Regions from separate parts of the Homo sapiens genome. Here region 1 is linked to region 2. The links are contacts of gene promoters, found by promoter capture Hi-C in human tissues and cell types (Jung and others, 2019). All regions are on one chromosome and are shown on one strand. The core of a region is centred on a gene start or on the middle of the fragment in contact, and the rest is flanking DNA. Distances in the headings are between cores, read along the strand shown. Region 1 overlaps ZMPSTE24 (zinc metallopeptidase STE24). Region 2 holds the start of RLF (RLF zinc finger).

Region 1 (4,593 bases), core at 38-2,537, 120 kb after region 2:
ATCATCTAACCCAATGAGGTAGATATTAGGCTCGCTTCATAAATAGGAAACTAAAGCTTAAAGAAATTAAGAAAGTTTTCTAAATTGACAGAACTAATACATGGCAGAGCCAAGATTTGAACCCAAAGTCTGTGCTCTTAATCACTATACTCAACTCACTGCACATTGTAGGACATTTAGAAATCAAAGAAGTGCATAAAGAAGAAAATAAAAATCAACCATAGTTCAGGTACTGTTAGCTGCTATTAAAAATTTAGGTATGGGCCAGCTGTGGTGATTCACACCTGTAATCCCAGCACTTTGGGATGCCAAGGCAGGAGAATTGCTTGAGCCCAGGAGTTAGAGACCAGCCTGGGCAACATAGCAAGACCCTGTCTCTACAAAAAATTAGCCGGGCATGGTGGTATGTGTCTGTAGTCCTAGCTACTCAGGAGGATGAGTCAGGAGGATTGATTGAGCTCAGGAGGTCAAGGCTGCAGTGAGCCATGATTATGCCATTGCATTGCAGCCTAGACGACAGAGAGACCCTGTCTCAAAAGAAAAAAAGGTATGTCTTCTTCCAGTCTTTATAAAAATTGCTTTAATTATAGAAGTAGGTATGCTGATTTTAAAAGTCTTTGGGAAAAGAAAGGAAACAAAAATCTATAATTTTAGAATTTAGTGATAAACATTTCAGTATTTTGGTATGTTTCCTAATAGGCATGGGCTTATGCTTTTCTGTTAATATTTGTTAGGTTGGTGCAAAAGTAATTGCAGTTTCAGACCATGAATTTTGAATCCTTATAACTAGGCTCAAACACATCTTTATTAATCAAAAGAAGAACCATTACAATCAACACATTTTTGCCAACAAGAAATACGTTTGCTTATTTCTGTAGGGTAAAACTCTGTGCTTCGGGATTTGGCAAACTCTTGGAAAGCATTTTCTGCATCCAGCTAGTTGTGAAAACGTTTTCTCTTTAAAAAGTTGTTGAGATGCTTGAATAAGTGGTAGTCAGTTGGCAAGAGGTCAGGTGAATGTGGCAGATCAGGCAAAACTTCATAGCCCAATTTGTTCAACTTTTGAAGGATTGATTTTGCGATGTTCGGTTGGGTGTTGTCTTGGAGAAGAATTGGGCCCTTTCTGTTGCCCAGTGCTGGTTGCAGGCGTTGCAATTTTCTGTGCATCTCATCGATTTGCTGTGCATACTTCTCAGATGTAATGGTTTTGCCAGGATTCAGAAAGCTATAGTGGATCAGACTGGCAGCAGACCACCAAACAGTGACCATGACCTTTTTTTGGTGCAAGTTTGGCTTTGGGAAGTGCTTTGGAGCTTCTTCTGTGTCCACCCACTGAGCTGGTCATCGCCCGTTGTTCTATAAAATCCATGTTTCGTCTCACGTCACAGTCTGATAGAGAAATGGTTTGTTGTGTAAAATAAGAGAAGACGACACTTCAAAACAATGATTTTTTTTAATTTTTATTTTCGCTTAGCTCATGAAGCACCCACTTATCAGGCTTTTTCACCTTTCCAGTTTGCTTCAAATGCCAAACGACCGTAGAATGGTCGACATTGAGTTCTTCGGCAACTTCTTGTGTAGTTGTAAGGGGATCAGCTCCGATGATTGCTCTCCATTGGTCATTGTCAACTTCCGATGGCCTGCCACTACGCTCCTCATCTTCAAGGCTCTCATCTCCTTTGCAAACTTCTTGAACCACCACTGCGCTGTACGTTCGTTAGCAGTTCCTGGGCCAAATGCGTTGTTGATGTTGCGAGTTGTCTCTGCTGCTTTACGACCCATTTTGAACTCAAAGAAGAAAATTGCTTGAATTTGCTTTTTTTTTTTTCTTTCTTTGTGAGACAGAGTCTCCGTCTGTTGCCTAGGCTGGAGTGCAGTGGCGACATCTCTGCTCACTGCAACCTCCGTCTCCTGGGTTCAAGCAGTTCTCATGCCTCAGCCCCACGTGTAGCTGGGATGACAGGTGTGCGCCACCATGCCCGGCTAATTTTTTGTATTTTTGGTAGAGACAGGGTTTCACCATGTTGGCCAGGCTGGTCACGAACTCCTGACTTCAAGTGATCCGCCTGCCTCAGCCTCCCAAAGTGCTGGGATTACAGGCATGAGCCACTGCACCCAGTTGAATTTGCTTTTTGTCTAATATAATTTCCCTTATCTAAAATAAATATAAAATAAACAGCAAGTAATGTCATTAGCAAAAAACATAAAGTGAGAAATGTGCATTAAAATGATGTATAACATAACCATATTTATTTAAGAATGTATTCCAATATCAAACAGCAAATTTCAACAATGCAAAAACCGCAATTACTTTTGCACCAACCTAATACATGCACATTTTTTCTTGACGATAATGGAACCTGATATACGTGAAGTTTTGTATCCTTCACAATATATTGGTGAGCTTTTTCTTGTTAAAATTCTTTGGAAGTATAATTTTTTTCTGGCAGCTTAAAATTCCATTTCATAGTTTTACTATAATTGAATCATTTGTAACTGTTGGATGTTTAGGCTTTACTTATTTACTTACTGCTATAAAGCTGTGATGAGCACATTTATTGGCAAAAAACAGACACTCTCCACTGCTGGTGGTGAATTATGTTGATATGATTTTTCTTCACATATTAAATGATTTGAAAATGTTAATGTCCTTTCCAGTAATTCAATTTCTAGGAGTCTCTCCAAAGGACCCCAAACTTTTTAATTATATTCCATGCTTTGAACTGTCTTTTCCTTAGGATCTAAACGCTCTTCCCACAGCAATGCTTATTTTTATGGCTTCTTCAAGAACAAGCGAATAGTTTTGTTTGACACTCTACTAGAAGAGTACTCTGTACTAAACAAAGACATCCAGGAGGATTCTGGCATGGAACCCCGCAATGAGGAAGAAGGGAACAGTGAAGAAATAAAAGCTAAAGTTAAAGTGAGTTATTTTTTCCTAAGAGATTCTACCTTAGTTTTTATACACAGTTCCTGTGACAACTCAAAATAACATCAATTTCTAGGCAGTGAGTGTTGAATTCAGGGAGACTATCAGATGAAAACCATGGCTCCTTTATAGTTCTGGTATTTAGGAGAGATCACCACTATTATTACATGCTAACTACCTTGCAAGCTTTTATAGAATGTGGATATTAAAATTGGAAGCTCTTATAAGAAAATTCATATGATTATAAGCTATCTTTAAAACAGGAACTTGTGTGTATATATATATATGTGTGTGTATATATATATATAATTTCTTATGTGTTTATGATCAAAGAATTCCCACAAGCAAGATAAAGAGAAGATAAACATCTAATTTTTAGCTTTATTAAGACAGTAATTGTAGGCTTTGGCAATGGAGAGACTTGGATTTGAATCCTGGTTCTGTCATTTAGTAGCTTTGTATCCTTGGATACGTTGTGTAATTTAGTCTGTTTTATTTGTTTAACACCCATTTATGAAATGTATACTCTGTGCTGAGAGACTTTACTTGGCACTAGGTACACAAAAATAAAAAGGAATACCTTCCTCTTAAGCTTACAGTCTAAAGGGGAAATAGTCATGCAATCACAGTACAATACGTGAATTGCTACTGTCAAGCTTTAGATTCTAGATATAGTAACTGGAGCACAAGAAAAGACATTTCTCAAATCTGACATGAGAGTCTGAGAAAGCTGCTTCTGAATCCTTTTCGTGGATAAGATTGACTGATATTGATTAGCAGAATTTAAAGTATCAAGACTAAATGGGGGAGAGGGGACAATGATAAGAAACAATACAAACTGTCAGAAATGATCATCAGTATTTGTATGTGTGATGGAATGTGCCATTGCCTTTGGTGTCATACAGAGATGATTTTAGATGCCTGTTCACTCACTGTCTGTGTAACTCTGTGCAAGTAAGTTAAGCTTTCATTTATTTATGTATTTATTTATTTTGAGATGAGGTCTTGTTATGTTTTCCAGGCTGGTCGAACTGCTGGCCTCAAGTTACCCGCCTGCCTTGGCCTCCCAAAGTGCTGGGATTATAGGCGTGTGCCACCGCACCCCGCCAAGCTTTCTAAATCTTTGATTTCTTAACTGAAAGATGAGGCCAGTAGGGTTTCTCAAGCCCCACGCTATTTTTTTGAGCCAGATAATTTTTTTGTTGTGGGAGGTATCTTGTGCATCACAGGATGTTTAGCAGCATCCCTGGTCTCTCCCCACTAGGGGCCATTTCCCCTACAACCTCTACAAATTGTAACAACAAAAATGTCTCAGAATATTGCCAGATGTCCCCTAAAGGTAGCGGTGGGGCCGAGTCTCCCCTGGTTGAGAAATACTAGGCTAAAGATACCTACATTTTAGGGTTTTGAAGATTAAATGAAATAATATGTGTGAAATACCTTGTACTCTCTACCCAAATGTAGAGAGTACCAGAAAATGATTAGCATCTGAGCATCTGTTTTGACACTAAAAACAGGTTCTAGTAAAGTACCTAGCCTGTTATAAATACGTAGATGAAATAAAATTCTGTGAAGGGATTAGAAGACATCTTAAAGTCATCTTATAAATAGGAAAACTGAAGTCCAGAAAGAATAACCCAGTGATAACACTAGAGAATCATGCA
Region 2 (5,280 bases), core at 2-2,501:
ACCCCGCCTCTACTAAAAATACAAACATTAGCCAGGCATGGTGGCGGACGCTTATAGTGCCAGCTACTTTGGGAGGCTGAAGCACGAGAATCACTTAAACCTGAGAGGCAGAGGTTGCAGTGAGCCTAGATCGTGCCACTGCACTCCAGGCTGGGTGACAGAGTGAGACCCTGTCTCAAAAAACAACAACAATAAACAATGGTTATATATATGGGGAATATCATTTAGTCTGTGGCTTGTCTTTGTGTGCTTTTTCAACTTGTTATACGGAAGTAACACATTTTAATACAGTCAAATCTAAATATTTTCCCTTATGGTTTGTGCTTTTCCGGTCTTATTAAGAAATTCTTAGCCGGGCGCGGTGGCTCACGCCTCTAATCCCAGCACTTTGGGAGGCTGAGGCGGGCGGATCACCTGAGGTCAGGAGTTCGAGACCAGCCTGACCAACATGGAGAAACCCCATCTCTACTAAAAATACAAAATTAGCCAGGTATGGTGGCGCATGCATGTAATCCCAGCTGCTCCGGAAGCTGAGGCAGGAGAATGTTTGAACCAAGGAGGCGGAGGTTGCGGTGAGCTGAGATAGCACTGTTGCACTCCAGCCTGGGCAACAAGGGTGAGACTCCGTCTAAAAAAAAAAAAAAAAATTCTTCCCTATTTTTGACATTATAAAGCTATTTTTATTTTCTGAAAAATGTTTGCAGGTCTTTAATCCATCTCGGCCTTATTTTTGGAAATGGTTTGAGGTAGAAATCTAATCATTTATTTCCCTTTTGGAAAAAATGTCTCATCGCCATTTATTGAAGAGTCTGTCCTTTCGCCCACTGACTTGTAATGCCGTCTGTATCATAAACCAAGTTCCCTTGATGTTACTCTTCATTTCGGCCTCACAATCTTTGCTTATTTTCCTTCTACCAGGGATGCTTTTCGCTATGTTCCTTTCAGGGCTACCTTCCTCTTGTCCCTTCAGATCGCAGTTCAAATGTCATCCCCCTCAAATCTAGATTGCTCTACAGGCATTTCTGGCTCCGTGATCCCATGACCTCAAAGGGGTCTAGGTGGGCATAGCCTCTAGCCAGTTGTTGCTAGGCTGTTGTCAGGACTGGCGATGCGTAGGCCACTGAGAGCACCCGGAGTCCGAGTGACGGAATCAGGCGGGCGCCCGCGTCGCTAAGGAGTGCGTCACAGTGCGCGGGCGGCCGGGGGCAGGGCCAGGGCTGAGTCACGTGGCTTGGTTGCCTACGCGCTGGTGGGCCGTGGGAAGATGGCGGACGGAAAGGGAGACGCCGCCGCTGTCGCCGGGGCTGGGGCTGAGGCTCCGGCGGTAGCGGGAGCCGGAGATGGAGTCGAGACTGAGTCCATGGTTCGGGGTCATCGCCCCGTATCTCCAGCGCCGGGAGCCTCGGGACTGCGGCCGTGTCTGTGGCAGCTGGAGACAGAGCTGAGGGAGCAAGAGGTGTCGGAGGTCTCATCTTTGAACTACTGCCGGAGCTTCTGCCAGGTGAGGGGCTGACTGGCTGGCTGAGGGCGGCGGGGCGGGGAAGTCAGGGAAGGAGGCCCTGGATCCTCTGTAAGCAGCCGGGTCCAAACTGAAAGGCGCCACCTCCGTGACTCGCCGCGCCCCCGGGCCGGGAAGGCCCAGCTCGGAAGCTCGACCGCTGGCCCCCCTGCGCCACTGCCCGACTTTGGCCACCGCTGGGTCGTTTTGCTCTGAGCCTTACTGAGATCCCGGAGGGCCCTGGCGGGTCCCTGGAAGGGCTGTGCCCTGTCGCCGTTGCCTGTGTCCTGGCCGGGTGGTTGGAGCGCCACTGCCCCCTGAGGGATTGATTGCTTGTCCCTGCCGGGAGATCCTTTTTTGAGTGGAGTGCAGATCTCCGAACTGGTAAACCCGGGTTTTTCTGAATAATCCAGAGAGGTGTGTTGGGGCCAGAGACTTATTTTTGGAGTTAACATCTTCTGGGCTCCTAAAAGGTATGACAGTTGGCTTCGAAAGGCGTCTAGAGCTTTCTGATTAGGGATTGCGGAGCCGGTTGGTTGTTTGGTTTTTGCTTTTTTTTTTTTTACGTTTAAGCCGTTCTTTCGTCTTTTCTGTATTTCTTTGAGAGGATTGTGCTACCGAGAATAAGGCTGACTCTTTGAGTAGAAGAGGATGGGAAGAGGGATGTAGAGTGTGGCCTCTTTTGGCAGTCGTATGATCATTTCTGTGCCTTGGTGGGTCCTAACCTATGATTACATATTTATGGGTGTGTTTAGTTTAGTCTCCATGACCACTCCGAGATTTTTCTGTATGTTTTCAAGTCTTTTACAAATACAAATATTGGCCATTATTATTTCTGCTTCCAATGTTTGTTCTGTCAGGTTTCAGAGGCACCCATCAGCTCCTTATCTGTTGTACCTTAGAAAATGCAAAATAATCGTGGCATGTTGGTACTTGGAGTCTAATAAGTAGTCCAGTATGCTGAATAAATTGCGGCGTTCTAAAATAATAATTTTGGGGGGCAATTTGCTCTGTTGGTCCGGAGTAGAATAAAAGTTAGCTTGCTTGATTGCTTTTCTTCCCTCTCTCTGCCGAGGCAGAAGCACCTCATCTCTCTGAATGGAATTTTGTCCTTACTAATCTTTTCCGTGGATTGTACCACTCCAATTTTTGTGTGTACAACCTGCAACATTGCCCTGTACTATTAAATGTTAACGTGTTGTTGTTCTCTGCTTCCTTAGTAGTAGTCATCCCTGTTTAGTAAGCTCATTTATTTTACAGATTTTTACTGACTTCATAGGATAGTGCCAGGGACTTTACCAAGTGCTGGGGAAACATGAGTAAGACAGCACTTAGCCTTGATGAACTTACAGTTGGTGGGAGGTGGTAGGAATGACAGTATTTCCAGTGCGGTTTTGGTAATGATGGAAAAGGAGGTGTTGTAGAGACAATGGTGAGGAGAGAGCCTTCATGGGATATCCTGATGGGAAAGACAATTAACTAGAAAAATAAGTAAAAAGGTTAATTATAAATTGTAGTATGTGCTTAGAAAGAAGTAACTGGGAGAGGCCACTTTAGTTAGTAAGACCCTATGGGCTGCAAGGATGAAAATGAGTCACGTGAAGGTCTGGGGTGGGGAAAGCATCCCAGTGCCAAAGGTAGAGATTGGTAAGGACCCAGAATGCTATGGGAGGAGGGGAAACTAATGGAAGGAGAGGGGTGGTGCAGGAAAACAACTGTGGGTTTTGGGTAAGGCTTCTAAGCTTGAGTTGTCTCCCTGGAAAGATGACAAGAATGAATGTAACCAGTCACATTGAAGCTTGTCAAAGGATCACATATATATGTATTCTGCTTTATGTCTAGTGCTTGCAACTGCAGTTTTGTTTAAGGTAATGTTTTAATGTCTTGAGTCTTGGTGACACCAGAGATGTGATGGCCCAGAAGAATTTTTAAAAGAAAGCATGTGTAATTTGTCTTTTCTATGAAGTTTTTTTTAACCTAAAATTTTCCCAAAAAATGTTTTTTAGACTAATAAATGAAACAAGAACAAGTATTCCTGTAACACTGTATTGTAATAGAAAGCACATGGGATTGGGAGTTAAGTTGGGTCTTGACTGTGACTTTACCACTGCTTAGCTAATAACCTTGGGTAACCATGTCTGCAAAACTATCTTATTTTCTGACCTTTATCTCCTTATAATGCTTTATACAATCAGAATAGAAAATTTGTGTACAAGTCTTCACAAAATTTATCATATTTTTGACACATTTTCCCCTGTAGTCCAGATAAGATCAACTGTGTCCTTGATGACCAGATAGAGAAAAAGTAAAAATTGTATGAAGAAGCAGGAAAATTTTCACCATCAGTAAATTTTGTTGAATAGCTCTTGGTTTCACATTTGAAAAGAAGAATAAGATATATTCATTTACTTAAGGAACACTGATTGTGTGACAGTTCTGAAGGTGGGAGCCTAGTTAAGACAGTTTTCTCGGACTCTAGGAGAGGAGCACATAATATATAAAGATAGATTGTAGGCATTTTTACATTATAAAGGTCTGACCCCTGCTTATGGGATGCTTAATACTACAAATGTATTTTCATCAGTTATTTAGTTAGAAATGTCCTAGAGACTTAGATTGTACCAAGTAATCCCTTTTGCAACATCCTGGGACCATATTCTCTCCAACTCTTGCAGCACTTAAAAGAAATGGCTCTATCTTTGGGATTGCACCAAATCAAGAAATAAACTAACATATGAGTGAATAGAGAAGCTTGTCTCATTCTGGGCATATTTTCAATTTTCATAAGTTTGTGAAGATGATAAAATGAAACACTGAAAGTAATACTTACTAAGAAAATGATACTTAGGTCAAACTGTATTCAGTGAAAATTGGTATTAAGTGACTATGGGATGTGGTTTGTTTTCCTCTTTCCTTCAGTTCCTTTTCTGAAACCACTGCCAGACAGTGTGGATAAGATTAACTTTAGAAAACAGTCTTTCTTTGTTTTCTTGAAAAATTGATGATGTCTTCTCAAGTTTTTCCTGTATTTTGGGGACCAGGATTCCTTAAGTTTTACAATTGGTGTCTCTATTTGTAACACAAATTTTGAAGACTTTTTTTTTAGTAAACTTCATTATCAAAATTGAAATTATTGAGTGATTATGTGATTACACTTTGAGAATACTGGGCAAAGTAATTTTATGAGTAAACCACGTTTATATGAGACACTTTTAGGTTCAAGACTAACAGTGACTTCGTAGATTTTTGATGGCTAAAATAAGTAAGTACTCCATTAAAATTTCCATTTTTCCTAGATTAGTGATGGGGAGTACAAGGGCTCTGAGTCAGATAGCCTATGTACTGGCTTCACTATTGAAATAGTTGTGTGACCTTGGGCATGTTATTTTCCTTAAACGTTAATTCTTTTGCAAATGGATAATAGTACTTAAGTTTTGTAAGCAAATTCATTGTTGTAAGGACTTAATAAGAAAATATCTATTTTTAAAAATGCCTTCAGAATTGTCTGTGTTATCCAGATTTCTTAGCTTTGTAATAAAAAGTTTTCACAACCTTGGTCTCAGCATGCTTTTCAGCCCTCCCCTTGTCAGTCCCATCACCTGAATCCAACTTGTTTACTCCTATTCAGGAGTTCTTTACTTGGAGTCAGTCCATGGACCAACATGTGATTGCAGTTATTCCTGTGATTAAAATTTTGTCTGTAAGTTTCCAAGCACATAATTTTGGGAAAGATGATTTTAATTTTCATTTGACTTCTCAAGATCCAATAAACGTATTAACTA

The links. Contacts are between HindIII fragments. The study calls those that stand out against the background at their distance.
Region 1: a fragment that was not itself captured here is called in contact with the fragment with the promoter of RLF in region 2 in 2 of the 25 tissues and cell types used here (adrenal gland and aorta).

Annotation. Positions count from the first base shown.
Region 1 is chr1:40,278,605-40,283,197 of GRCh38, forward strand. It overlaps ZMPSTE24 (zinc metallopeptidase STE24), which reads left to right. Exons shown (of 10, transcript NM_005857.5): 7 at 2,739-2,923. Among named protein-coding and RNA genes, the nearest start is that of ZMPSTE24, 23 kb to the left of the region's middle. The HindIII fragment of the contact is 4,061 bases long and covers 1-3,318 here.
Region 2 is chr1:40,160,136-40,165,415 of GRCh38, forward strand. RLF (RLF zinc finger) reads left to right here and starts at 1,252. Exons shown (of 8, transcript NM_012421.4): 1 at 1,252-1,501. The coding sequence starts at 1,265. It overlaps LOC105378671 (a long non-coding RNA gene), which reads right to left and starts at 1,143. Exons shown (of 3, transcript XR_947232.3): 1 at 830-1,143. RefSeq lists enhancers at 924-1,540, 1,028-1,537, 1,541-2,156. The HindIII fragment of the contact is 7,287 bases long and covers 1-3,772 here.